Regions from separate parts of the Homo sapiens genome. Here region 2 is linked to region 1. Evidence: promoter capture Hi-C in 16 types of primary human blood cells and fetal thymus (Javierre and others, 2016). All regions are on one chromosome and are shown on one strand. Each heading gives the region's core, a stretch centred on a gene start or on the middle of the fragment in contact. The rest is flanking DNA. Distances are from core to core; before and after follow the strand shown.

Region 1 (6,908 bases), core at 1-2,500:
GAGATCAAGTTTTAAAACTCTTCCACATTTCTTGTTTGTCAAGTCCATGAGATTTTTCTTGATAGATCTCTCTCTAGCCCTGAAAGTCTCCTGCCTCCCATCCTATGAAACCCTCAGATCTCTCCTCCTCCACTGCACTTACACCCACATCCAGGCTCTGTCCTCCTCCATGGGCTTACAAAACACTGAGCACTCACCATGCAAATCACACAGAAGAACTCAATTAAGACCTGTGATTCTGAGTTAAATGGGCTTGATCAAAAGAAAGATGAAACATAGGCTCACTGAGAATTCAATCCTGTGTTCATAGCCATCTGAATATAATCAAAGATGTTAATGTCACGATTTAATCCAGAGAAGTGGCTGTAGTGGAAGAAAACTTTTCCAAAATAATTTCCTTGGGATGTTCCAAGGAAGGAAGGAAAGATAAGGGAAGGGTAGGGAAGGAGAGGGGAGGGGAGGGGAGGGCAGGGGAATCCATAGGCCAATACATTTGGGAAATACAAAACTTTCTCCTTCTAGGAGAGTCACAATTCATGTTAATCTATTAAAAGCCTCAAGAAGTTATGCCTTAAAGCAGGGGGCCTCAACCCCTGGACCACAGACCAGCACAGTTTGGTTGCCTGTTAGGAACCTGGCCTCACAGCAGGAAGGTGAGTGGCAGGCATGATCATCTGAAGTGGAACAGTTTCATCGCCAAACCCTCCCCCTCACCCTGCTCCCATGGAAAAATTGTCTTCCATGAAACCAGTCCTTGATGCCAAAAGGTTGGGGACCACTGCCTTAAAGGAACATGTTTGTCTTTTGTTAACCCTGTATTTCCCCAAATTACTTGATCATACTAGAAAATAAGCCCTCTAAGGGACAGTATTTGATACTGTTTCTCCCCCTTGTATATCTTCCTCTCCTTCTATACTCCCCTCAGTCCCTTCCCCAGATCTATCTCATTTCTGACACTCAGAAGGTATCCAATAAAATACATTTTGGGTAGAATTACAATCCAGATCACTGAAAGAACACCCTCTGCAGAGGCCTGAGATGGATTGCTCTTCTGTTTTGCTGGACTCTTACAGAGGGAAGATACAGCCAGACAGAAGGAAGAACTTTCTGGCATTGAGTGGAGTAATTTAGTAGAATGGGTAGGTTAGAAAAGTTAGAGAATCCCATTTGTTTGTATCCTTAACAACCAGAACATAGAAGCAGAGAAAAGAACAAGATGACCTTGGTGGACACTTTTCTGCCTGGAGAAAGTTCAGAAAATCCTTGGTGAGTTAAATCACTGCTCTCTCCCCTACAATTCTATCCACTCTCTCTTTCTACTTTTGAGCCTTTGGTACAGGAAGGAGACAAAGTCACTCAAATTCCCACATCAGCAATTTGGAGGAACAGACTCTTAGCAAAAAAAACAAAACAGCCAAACAAAACAAAACAAAAATGGCATTTGCAAACCCCAGGATCTGAGAAAGAAGAAGGTTGAGAGCTGAAATGGAGGCAGATGATTTGCATCTGGGCCTGGGCAGAGGGGCCCAGCTGCTCGGCCCAGAGCAGTGGCTCTGAGCAGCAGCTTCTCTGTCTTGGGACAGCCTCTATGGACAGCTGTCCTGGCTCTGCCCCAGGTCTGGGCAACCTGCCAGCTCAGCCTGTAGTTCTGCAGCTCCAGAACTTATACTCACTACAGCCCATCTGTTTGATGGGCTCATCAGTGTTCAGAAATTGTTCTTATTTATCAGTGTTATCAGGTTACATGTCTAGAGGATAATATTATTCAAAAGCAATATTTACTTGGCTTTTCAATGGAAAAGAGTCTTTCAAAATACTTTTTCTAATACCTTTATAATAATTTCTTACCAAATATCACTTAATATTTTCATTTTCCATAATAAACTACATGCAGTTATAAAAGGGTAGAGAAAAATAGTCTGTACAGGTGTTACTGACATCTAAAGCCAAGAGGATCTTAGAAAATATTTCTCTGTCAGAAGGTGATACCGATATCCAGTGAAATTAAGTAACTAGTATAGTTTTAAACTCAGATTGCTCTTTTACCCCTAGTTCAGGGTTTTTACTAAATTCTATAAAACACAAGAGAGGGAGCCATGGAATGACAAATAGGCCCTATCATGAGGCACCAAACTGCTGAATCACATAGGCAGTAGAGAGCTAATTCATTATCTCAGTTAGCATAAGGGTTTTTATTTTTAACCAAGGGAAAAAAAATGAACAAGCTCACAAAAAAACCTTCAGAAACCCTGAACTACTGCGTCTCGTATAAAAAGAACAAGTCATTTTGTTTTCATGAAGCACCTGGAATATATGCTCAGAGAAGTTCATGGTGCCAAAGATATAGAGACAATGTTTTCAAAGGGTGGGAAGGGCAGGTGAGAGGGAAAAAAGAGAAAGGGGAAGGAGGAAAGGAGGGAAGGAAGGAAAGAAGGAAGGAAGGAAGGAAGGAAGGAAAAGGAATGGAAGGAAGGAAGGGAAAGAAGGAAAGAAACAAAGAAAGAAAGAGAAAGACTATACAACTGAGAAAGAAGATAAACAGAGGAATACCCTGGGCCGCCTCCTCCTCCTAGGAATCATATAGTCTTCATCTTTGTCTTTCAGAAGCTGCTTGTAGAAGAGAAAAATATTTCTTTCAAAAAATAAATCACAAATACTATAAACATATAAACCTACATATGTACTCATAAAAATTAAGAATAAATATAAATAAAAACCAAAAATTAATACATCTTTTTTATTAACAAAAAAATCTCTAGCAATTGCTTGTGAAATGGTATCTTTAATGAGTGAGGTAATTTTGACAGATAGACATAGTATTCTGCAGAAACTGAAAATATTATATTTCATGCAAATCAAAACCACAATGAGATACCATCTCACACTACTCAGAATGGCTATTATTAAAAAGTCAAAAAATAAAAGATGTTGGCGAGGTGGCAGAGGAAAAGGAATGTTTATACACTGTTGGCGGGAGTGTAAATTAGTTCAACCCTTGTGGAAGACAATGTGGCGATTGCTCAAAGACCTAAAAACAGAAATATCTTTAGACTCAGCAATCCCATTACCGAGTATATACCTGGAGGAATATAAATCATTCTGTTATAAAGACACGAGCACATGTATGTTTGCTGCAACACTATTCACAATAGCAAAGACATGGAATCAACCCAAATGCCCAGTGATGATAGACTGGATAAAGAAAATGTGGCACATATACACCATGGAATACTATGCAGCCATAAAAAAGAATGAGATCATGTCCTTTGCAGCAACATGGATGGAGCTGGAGGCCATTATCCTTAGCAAACTAACACAGGAACAGAAAACCAAATACCGCATGTTCTCACCTATAAGTGGGAGCTAAATGATGAGAACACATGGACACATAGAGGGAAACAACACACACTGGGGCCTATGGGAGGGTAGAGGGTGGAAGGAGGGAGAGGATCAAAACAAATACCTATTGGGTACTAGGCTTAATACCTGGGTGATGAAATAATCTGTACAACAAACCCCTATGACAGGAGTTTACCTATGTAACAAACTTGCACATGTACCACTGAACTTAAAATAAAAGTTAAAAGAAACTATTATATTTCAAGAGTCTTAAAAATAGCTGCAATTTCTTGAGCATTTGCTGTAAGGTAGGCGCTGGACTGAATACTCTGTATTCCTTTATTCTTATAGCTCTACAACCACTCCTGTAAGGTTATCCCCATTTAGCAGCTAACAAACTGAGACCTAGAGATGTTAACGTATCCAAGACTACAGAGCTACTTGATGCCAGAGCTTCACTCTAAAGCCTGCTCTCCTAACCATCAAACTATCAATGTTAACAAAATGTTGACATTTGGGCCAGGACAATTATTCCTTATACTGAAGAGTCCCATCCCTTCAAAAGCACTTATCATCATTGGCCCTCAGGTACTAAATACCAGTATCAGCTTCCCATTTCTTTGAAAATTAAATCTCTCTCACATATTTCCAAACTCCCTACCGAAGTTATATTCTCCATTTCCCAAACATATTGGAAAACAACTGTTAAGGAAAACATTGAATTCTAGAAACTTAGGATTTAAAAGAGTTGTTAAGTTTCCATTAGTTCAGCTTTTATAGTTAATTTGTACGGAAAAGAATAGTAAATAAAGAGAATTAGGGCGTGTTGGATTTAGCATTTTACTTGTTGACTGTGAAGCTAATTCTCAGAGAAGCACATATTTAGCATCTACTATGTCCTGAGAAAATATGTTAGATATTTTCATGCCTACGTAAAAGGAATAGCGTGGGAGAAGGGTTGAGTGAGAAACAGAGAGAATTGTTATTTTCCTCACATTATACTTGAAGAAAATAATGTTTTGAGAACTTAATTTGCCAAGCAAGAATTTTATTTAGGATTATTTCTACCATATTATAGCTATACTATGGATACTCAATGGAGTTGTCCCATTGATGATTGGAAATGGAATTTAGAAACATGGTAAAAAAAAAATCTAACTATACCTATAGCCAAAAAATCAGAAAGAAGGTAATGAACATGTGAAAATCAGTCACAATTAACACATTAGAGGAGTGCCTTGTAGAATAAATATTGTGATATACATTCATAAATAAATGATTTAAAGAAGGAAACAGTAGAATCAGGAGAGAGACAGAAAGAAGATATCCAAAATGCAGCAGCATCCTACGGAGAAGAGTGTTCAGAGATACTGGAGAAGCGAGGAGGGATAGTTAGCAGTGCTGGATGCTCCCGGTGGGTGAAAGTGATTGAGGCCTGGGAGAAACCTTTTAGAGTTCAACAAGCCTTTTCCAAACTGAAAACCAATAAACTGAAGACATCTTCAGGGTGTAACCGATTTTAAAAGTTCAGCTTTGAAAACGTTGGGGAAAGCAGTCATTTACTACAAAAACAAAAACTTTGAAGTGGTTTGAACATAAAACAAAGTTAAGAAACTAACAGAAAAAAAAAGTAGTCAGTATTCAAAAACAAGCTTCGGGGGAATTTACCAGAGTATGAAAGTTATCAACACAGAGCGACTGGCTCAGAGCCCTCTCAAGTGTGTGATACGACTGGAAACTTCTTCTCTGAGATAAACGCCAGATCATTTATGAGAGAGAGCTTTCCCATTTTCAGACAGCTCTCCTGAGGACAGAAGGATTTATCTGCAGCAGTGGAATTCTAGTTATATGGTAGGAAGACTCCTGCACACACCTCTTTAAATGGACTGTACCTTTGCCTTAATAGGAAAAGATCTCCTGTTTTTCTGGAAAGACAGAGGCAGCTCTGGGGCAGGAAGGTCTTCCTAGTTGTGAGCACCGTGTCTACGGATGGTTTGTCCTTCGCTCAGTCTCCTGAGCCGGAGCAAAGGATGTGGCTGGGCCAGGAGGCGGGGACTGCATCTACATGTGTGGATGTGTGTGTGTGTGGTGTGTTCTCATTTCCGCTTCCCCTTTTGAGCAGGCAACAGCAGTTGAATGAGTTCAGGGAGAAAGGCATAATCTACAACATGATACTTTCTCACTTGCTTCACCTCTGTGCCCACACCTGTGAAGGCCTCGGCCCAGCTTCGACAACTGCTTTGCCTCAAACTCAGCTTTCTACCAGCAGACAGGTAAGCACAGCCTTTATCTCAGTTTCAAGGCTGTACTGATTTAGGGTGATGCTAGGAGAAAGAAGGAAACATGTCAGAGAAAAATCAGGCTGTCAAGTCAAGGGAAAATCAAGAGAAAATCTCCCACCACTCTTACTTCAACCTTAAAAGCATCCATCATTATGCCTAGGAGAACGATGCTGGGTGCCCTTTTGCTTTCGTTTGTTTGTTTTCTCTTTATTATCAGAGAGGTAATCTTTCTAGATTCTCAAAACTTGGGTCTCTTTGATGACTTGAATAACATTTTAGGAATTTTTTTTCACCTTTCTCACCTGCAAAGTTCTTCTCTGTGTCTTGCTGAACTCATTGTTGCTGCAATTTCCATCTGATTATAACATCGAAAAGTTCTCAAGGAAGAAGTTTCCCGGTTTCATTTCAGGCCCTACTCTAGTGTCCATAGCTCCAACCATTGAGAGTACCTGGCTGAAATCAACTTTGCTTTCTGTGGGTATGACCTCTTTCTTCAGAAGCTGTAGAAGAAACTTGTTGAGATAAACTGCAGCAAGATATATTGAGGTCAGCTACGAGGGAGGATGTACACACTTGAGTGAGGTAAGGTCAAATTCACCGGGAGGCTCAAGATAGATGGATAGCCACCATCAGGACCAGATTTCAGGGTTCACATCTCAAAGATAGATAGATGGATGTGTTGCCTTCTCAGTGACCTACATAATATTGGGGGCTTCATGCTCCTCCAACACCCCTTGCCCCAGTGGTAGCAGGCAGAGCATATCACCACCTACATGAGTTTTGGGGTAGATGGAGGAGTGGAAAGATCCTCCACCCTGGGGTTTTCCCATGCCCCTTCTGTGCCACTAAGCTCACCAGTGGGTGGAAGAAAAAGGGTGGGTCCCCAGGGCAGGGCAAGGACAAGAAAGGAGAGTTCCACAGAAGTGATTTGACAAGACTGTGAGCATTTACAGGAGATATCCAGGGAAGTACTAGTGACTCTGTATACCACAAATGGTCCTGAGTAGAGAGGTAAGGAGACTTTCTAGATGGTGCAGGGCAGTACCTAGGATGGGAGGTTGGAGGTAGGAACCTTCAACTTGTGTGTCCAAGTATCAGACTCAATAGTTGTTCAGCTGAGTGATTAGAGATAAAGATCTCACAATATTGTCTTGCAGCATGAAGTGTTAGTAGGAAGAAGGGAAGTCAGGTTTATTGTCTGTCTCTACTTGGACTATTATCAGAAATAACAAGCTGAAGATATAGCAGAAGGGATAGAAAGCAATTTAACATCTGAGTTATTCGCAT
Region 2 (6,854 bases), core at 77-2,576, 570 kb after region 1:
TTGGGGAAGAGGTGGGCAGGGGGTCACTGCCTTCCCTTTCTAGAGTCCCTTCCTCTACTTCCACAGGGGAATCTGGGAAGAATGGGGTCCTGGCTTTCCGCTCCCATTGTTTTTTTGGTTTTTGGTTTTTGGATTTTTTTTTTTTTTTTTTTTTTGGATACAGTCTTGCTCTGTCACCCAGGCTAGAGTGCAGTGGTGCAATCGCGGCTCATTGCAGTCTCTGCCTCCTGGGTTCAAGTAATTATCCTGCCTCAGCTTCCCGAGTAGCTGGGATTACAGGTGCGGACCACCACATCTGGATAATTTTTGTATTTTTAGTGGAGATGGGTTTTGCCATGTTGGCCAGGCTGGTCTTGAACTCCTGGCCTCAGGTGATCTGCTCACCTCGGCATCCCAAAGTGCTGGGATTACAGGTGTGAGCCACCGTGCCTGGCCAGAGCTCCCAGCGTTTACAGCCATTAGGAGCTGAAGGTTGGGTCCCTTTGCAAGACTTTCCACCACCACCACCACCTCTCACAATTCTCCAGGTTTGTAGGAACCCGGCCAGTTTAATCAAGCAGGTACTGAGGGGCCAGCCACTCGCAGGCTTTTGGTCAACTGTCAGATCCAAGGAAGGGGCTCAGCAGAGGTTTACATACCCTAGGACCAAGAAGGGGGCAAACTGGAGCAGAATCCTCCTGATGAATGACCCCAAACTCCTGGGTTTTCAATACTAGCAAGCTTGGAGGAGGAAGCAGCGGAACTTGAGGAGCCCGTGTAGGTCCTCTAGCAAGCTGACTGCGAACGCTGTCTCTGTACCTCAACTGTTGTGTCCCAAATCCAGCTGGCCAGAACCCAGGCACCCGGCGGCCCCGGAAGGCAAGGGGGAATCCCAGTTGGCCGGACGCCAGAGGAGTCTCCTGTCTCTTTAGACCCCAAAGTCTCCTCCCTAAAGCACTGAGGGAGACCCCACACACATATACAGGCTTCCTCCGCCCACCAGAGGTGATTCCTTTCCTCATTAGGAAATTCTCCGCTCCCTTTTCCGACTCGTTTTCCGAGCGTTTACGTTGTACATCTGGAAAGGAATGGGGAGGAAGGAGGGGGAAGCAGAGAGGAGGGGGAAGAACCCAAACCCGCCCAGTCTAACCCAGTCCAGACAACCGGCTTCCAGCTGGGGCTGGGGAAAGGGGGTTGGAGGGGTGCGCCCCCCCCCCACGCCCCTTAGGGGTGGGGGACGCGGGCTCAGAGTTCCAGGGACCCAGGAATGCCCCCCCGCCAGCCCCCTCGGCAGGCGGGGGGAGGGCTCAGCCGGGAGTTTGGCAAACTCCTCCCCGCGTTGAGTCATTCGCCTCTGGGAGGTTTAGGAAGCGGCTCCGGGTCGGTGGCCCCAGGACAGGGAAGAGCGGGCGCTATGGGGAGCCGGACGCCAGAGTCCCCTCTCCACGCCGTGCAGCTGCGCTGGGGCCCCCGGCGCCGACCCCCGCTGCTGCCGCTGCTGTTGCTGCTGCTGCCGCCGCCACCCAGGGTCGGGGGCTTCAACTTAGACGCGGAGGCCCCAGCAGTACTCTCGGGGCCCCCGGGCTCCTTCTTCGGATTCTCAGTGGAGTTTTACCGGCCGGGAACAGACGGGTGAGTGAGGAGGGCTGGAGACGGGATGGGGGTGGGGGAGCCGCCTGGAGACTGGGGGCGCGGCTGGGGTCTGGAGGGGACCAGGGCTTAAGTTTGAGGGTGGAGTTTGTAAGGAATAGAGCTGCAGTTGGGGGCCCTGGCTAGAGTTGGGGGCCCGCGCTGGAGTAGGGAGGGCACCGTGGCGGGTGAGGAGGGGCCCTGGCGTTTGAGATCAGTGGGGAGACATGTGTCCGGTGGGGAGAGGACACGGAGCTGGAGAAGTCTGGGCAGGGGTCTCCGGGCCAAGGGAGAGGAGAGCGCGTGAATGGAGAGCTGAGGGTCTCTGGCTGAAGTCTGTGGGCTGCTGGGACCTGGGGCGGGTGGGGGCGCAGAGGGGGCGCAGAGGCCGGGAAGGGCTTTTGGGGGCTCCAGGAGACCTCGGGATCCGTAGGGGCCATTGTGCGGCGAGAGAACGGGTAGAAGCCGAATGAGCTACGTGTAGTAGGAGGAAAGTCAAAGACTGAGGGGGTCGGAAGGTTAAATGGGGGCCAGCCTCATCCTCCCCTCCCCCCTCAACTCAGACCGGGGAAAGACCCGAGAGAGGACGGCGGCTCCCTCTCCTTTCTCCTCTGTCTCCTACTCCTCCCTCCGCCCCCAATCTCTGTTCAGGCGAGGGGATCCGAGAACTGGGGGCGAGTGCGGGGACCCTGGCACTGGGGCCCTGGGGCTGGGGGCGAACTCAGCCAAGGGCGGGTGCTGGGATGTGTCGGGAGGGGTGTGTGCGCGCGTGAAGGGGGGTGGGCGGTTTCCCTCTTCCTCTGGCTCTTGGGAGGAAGAGAAAAGCTGGTTTCCTGTAGCTGGTCGGCTGGAGCTGTGCTGAGACCGGGACTTCTGGGGCTGGGGTCGGAAGCTGGGGAGACGGGGGCTCCGTGGGGCCAAGAACGTCAGAATGAAGGACTCAGGACCCTGGAAATCTCAAAGGAGGATCCTTATTCCCAACTCAGCACAGTGATAAGCAGACCCGGACCCCGAGTGCCTAGAAAATGGGGTACTGACAGGCTTGGGAAACAGGAGTTAGAGTGGAAGCAACATTAGAACCAAGGGTGTCTGTTTAAATGTGGGATGGCGGGGAGATTGGGAAGCAAGAGAGGTAGGTGGTTGCTCCTGGGCTAGGCCATAGATGCCAGATTCCTGGTCCTCCACAATGACTGGTGTAATCCTTTTTCTTCTACATCTCTGAGCTGGGAGCTTCCTACTGCTCACCCCCACCCCAACCCCAGGATCTCAGGGTTTGAGGGGAATTCTGTCAGAAGCGACCTGTTTTTACACATGAGACAGTTAACTGATCTCTACTCAGTCCCTATAGTTTTTGGAGAAAAGGGGTTAATCTAGCTAATACAACTGGGGAGAAAGGCAAATTCTCCTTTGTCTGGAGGACTTGGGGATGGGAGAAAAGAAAAATGATTAGGCCCCGACTGTTGTTCTGGGCTATTCAAGGTCCCCACCCAACCCCCACCCCACCCCCCTGGCCTTTTGCCCAAACCCCATTGCATCATCACCCTGGCCTGGAGCCTCTGCCAGGCCTGGTCTCCCCCAGGTTCCCTCAAACTTCTTATCACAGCCCTAATGGAGTAGAAAAGAGGGAAGGAGGAAGGGGATGAGGTCTCCTCCCGCAGATCAGAGTATCTAGTTGTCTGGCATTTAACCTTCTCTTTACTCCCCCCTCCCCTAAATTTCCCTTTAAAACACTCCTCTAAAACATCTGGACTTCACACATTCCTGGTCCCCTAGGTGTCTGTCTGGCCCCTGGCCTGATCCTGTAGTCCCTAAAGTCCTCTTCTAAAACAGGACCTAGCTCTCTCATCCCTTCCCCCTCCCCTTCTGCTCATCTCCCCTCCCAAGAGAACCCAGGTGTCCAGCTTGCACTCCTTCCCTCTCATTTCCTATTTACAATACCCTCTTACAGTGGAACATTCTACCTCCCCAGTGACCTCCTCCCACCACAGCTAGGCCTTCACCCCCTTTCCCACAACACAAGACAAACACAGCCCCTCACCTACAGCCATTGCCAAAGAGGGAGAGCCTCAGTGTTCTTGTTCTTCCTGCATCACCTCTTGTGGTGAACACCAAAATAGTATTAAAGGACAGGGCGAGCACCAAAGCAGTTAGATGGTAGGAAAGGGCAAAGCTTTCAGTCAGACAGAGGTAGGTGTGAGTCCCCACTACTTACTAGTTTTTTGCGTGGTACCCTAGTACCTAGGGAGAGGTATTTAAGCTCTTGGAGCCTGGTCTTCCCGTGAAAATCAGACACCTGACTAACGGAGTTCTGAGGACTAAATGAGAAAACATATACAAAAGGAACCTGGTCCACAGAGAGTGATCAATACATGGGCGGCATGGTTTTTATGGGGTAGCTGTTTCTGTTTCTGGTTCTCTCCTTCCTGGCTACCGCCTAGTTCCCTCATTTCTTACTTGCTTTGAGTATTTGCTTATACTAGTGATAGTAACAATAGTCTGTCATATTCCTTTAGCACTTTCATATCGATTTTTCCATTGGATTGTAACAAAAATCCTTGTGTTAAAGCAAAGGAAGCATTATTGCCCCATTTTTAGATATACAAAAACTGAGGCTGGCCAGGTGCAGTGGCTCACGCCTGTAATGCCAGCACTTTGGGAGGCGGAGGTGGGTGGATCACCTGAGGTCAGGAGTTCGAGACCAGCCTGGCCAACATGGTGAAACCCCATCTCTACTAAAAATAAAAAAATTAGCCGAGCGTGCTGGCACGCACCTGTAATCCCAGCTACTCGGGAAACTGAGGCAGGAGAATCCCTTGAACCTGGGAGGCAGAGATTGCAGTGAGCTGAGATCACATCTGTACTGAGCGACCCCAGACTGGGCGACAGAGTGAGACTCCATCTCAAAAAAACAACAACAAACAAACAAAAAATAAAAACAACTGAGGCTTCAGGAGTCATAGAAATTTTGAACCAGAAGTTAGTTTAGGAAACATTCAAGGGAAATCCATCATTTTATGCCAGAGAATCCAAAGCTTGAAGAGAGGCAGTGACTTGGCCCAGGACACTTGAAAGCTTGAGAGGCAGGCCAGTCTCAGCTCAGCTCCTTGTTCCCTTCTGCAACTGCCACAAGTGGAGACAGCTGTTCTTCCCCAGCCAATCATACATATCCCTTGTGAATGCACTAGGGGACCCCAAACCAGGTGTCCTCCTCTGGCCTGGCCCATGCTGCTGTAGGACCTGTAGGAGCTGGGCGCTGGTCCACTTGCTGCTCTCCACCCCTGACCTTGTCAGGCCAACAGAGTCAAACAGTAACCCAGTATTGAACTGGGACTTGGTTAATCAAAAGCTGGGGAGATAGCAGATATGAGAGGAGGGAATAAGTTGGCAATGGGGTAGACTAGAATGCTGTCGTAGAAATCAGGATTCCTGATTTCTGCTTCATATTCTGGGAGGGATTATGAGTGACCTAAGCCCATTACTTAACTCCTCTGAGATAGTTTTCCCATCTGCAGAATGAGAACATGGGACGAGGTGAGCAGCTTTGAACTTTTTCTTAGGGAGTGTCAGAACGAGGCCAGTCTGCCTTTATGCCATGTGGCCTCAGGCACCTACAGTGAAGTCTTAAAACCAGTGGATGCTCTCTACAGTGCCTTCTAGCTGTGGTAGTCTGTGTCTCCAAGGACCAACCCTTCCATTTCTGAGGCTTCAGAATAAATTCTGGCAGTTATTTCTTCTCTCAGACTCTATTTCAGAAAAGTGTACCTGCCAACCTGCATTTAGTAAGAAATAATGAATTCCTTTTCTCATTCTTTTTATTTTTATTTTTTATTTTTTTGAGACGGAGTTTCGCTCTTGTTGCCCAGTCTGGGATGCAATGGCGCAATCTCGGCTCACCGCAACCCCCACCTCCCTGGTTCAAGCGATTCTCCTGCCTCAGCCTCCTGAGTAGCTGGAATTACAGGCATGTGCCACCACGCCCAGCTAATTTTGTATTTTTAGTAGAGACGGGGTTTCGCCATGTTGGTCAAGCTGGTCTCAAACTCCCGACCTCAGGTGATCTGCCTGTCTCAGCCTCCCAAAGTGCTGGGATTACAAGCGTGAGCCACCACGCCTGGCCGTTGTTGTTGTTGTTGTTGTTGAGAAGGAGTCTCGCTCTGTCTCTGGACTGGAGTGTAGTGGCGTGATCTCGGCTCCCTGCAAGCTCCGCCTCCCAGGTTCATGCCATTCTCCTGCCTCAGCCTCCCTAGTAGGTGGGACTACAAGCGCCCGCCACCACGCCCGGATAATTTTTTTGTATTTTTAGTAGAGACGGAGTTTCACCATGTTAGCCAGGATGGTCTCGATCTCCTGACCTCGTGATCTGCCCGTCTCGGCCTCCCAAAGTGCTGGGATTACAGGCGTGAGCCACCGCACCTGGCGCTTTTCTCATTTTTTATTAACCAAAAACATCTATAGCTGCCAATCAGAGTTTCTGACCAGCATGAGATAACCAGGTTCCCACATAAGTTGATATAATTCCAGCCAAAAGCAAATACACTTGAGGTTTTAATTAGCCTAGGCCACCTTATCTGGTAAATGCATGATTTCCGTTAGGCTTTCTGAAATATTGAAAATAGCACACGGACCCTCCATTGTTACCTTCTTAGACCCCTAAAAGTGCCCAACTGCTGCAGGATTTAGGAAGCAGGAAAAAGATGTGGGAAAATAAGGACAAACTAGCTTGCATGCCATCCATGGCACCAGTCACCTCACTTGGCGTGTTGGCAGGGGAGGCACTATTTATTGGATTGACTTTAGGTTGCTGGGATGGAAGGGCCACTGCCTGTCCAGGAATAAGCCATGGGTAGTGTGCCGGGAGGAAAGGAGGCCTAGGTCTGTGTCCCTTGCCTGCATGCCAGGTATCCTGAACCATCGCACAGCCGGAATGGATATGCCCCTGGCTTGTGGGCTTTACAAGCTTTGTAAACTCTCTGTCTTGCAACCCTGCTAAACTCCAGGCTACTTCCTCAGGCCACCCCAGGAGTGTCAGGCTCAGCTCCTCTCCAAGAGCAGTGGGTGTTGGAGAAATTGGCAGCAGGAATAGGGTCCCTTGGCCTTAGCCCTGTGCTCCAGGAAACTTTGAGAGAACCTCTTCTTCACCCAGAGGAAGAGGGAGAGGGTATTGCCCAAGTCCACAGTTAGTGCCTGAACCAGAACTCTTGGCTCCTGGTCCAGTGCTCCTTTCACTGCTTCCTGTACCTCTGCTG

What was found. Contacts are between HindIII fragments. The CHiCAGO score rates a contact against its expected background, and 5 or more counts as called.
Region 2: the fragment with the promoter of ITGA5 here is called in contact with a fragment that was not itself captured in region 1 in 1 of 17 cell types (non-activated CD4 T cells); the score reaches 5.4 in non-activated CD4 T cells.

Annotation. Positions count from the first base shown.
Region 1 is chr12:54,983,289-54,990,196 of GRCh38, reverse strand. LOC107984515 (a long non-coding RNA gene) reads right to left here and starts at 5,346. Exons shown (of 2, transcript XR_001749161.2): 1 at 5,232-5,346. It overlaps TESPA1 (thymocyte expressed, positive selection associated 1), which reads left to right and starts at 5,435. Exons shown (of 11, transcript NM_001136030.3): 1 at 5,435-5,612. The HindIII fragment of the contact is 7,487 bases long and covers 1-4,993 here.
Region 2 is chr12:54,413,738-54,420,591 of GRCh38, reverse strand. It overlaps ITGA5 (integrin subunit alpha 5), which reads left to right and starts at 1,326. Exons shown (of 30, transcript NM_002205.5): 1 at 1,326-1,611. The coding sequence starts at 1,394. The region is part of intron 2 of GPR84-AS1 (GPR84, ZNF385A, ITGA5 and GTSF1 antisense RNA 1); the gene reads right to left. The HindIII fragment of the contact is 3,058 bases long and covers 723-3,780 here.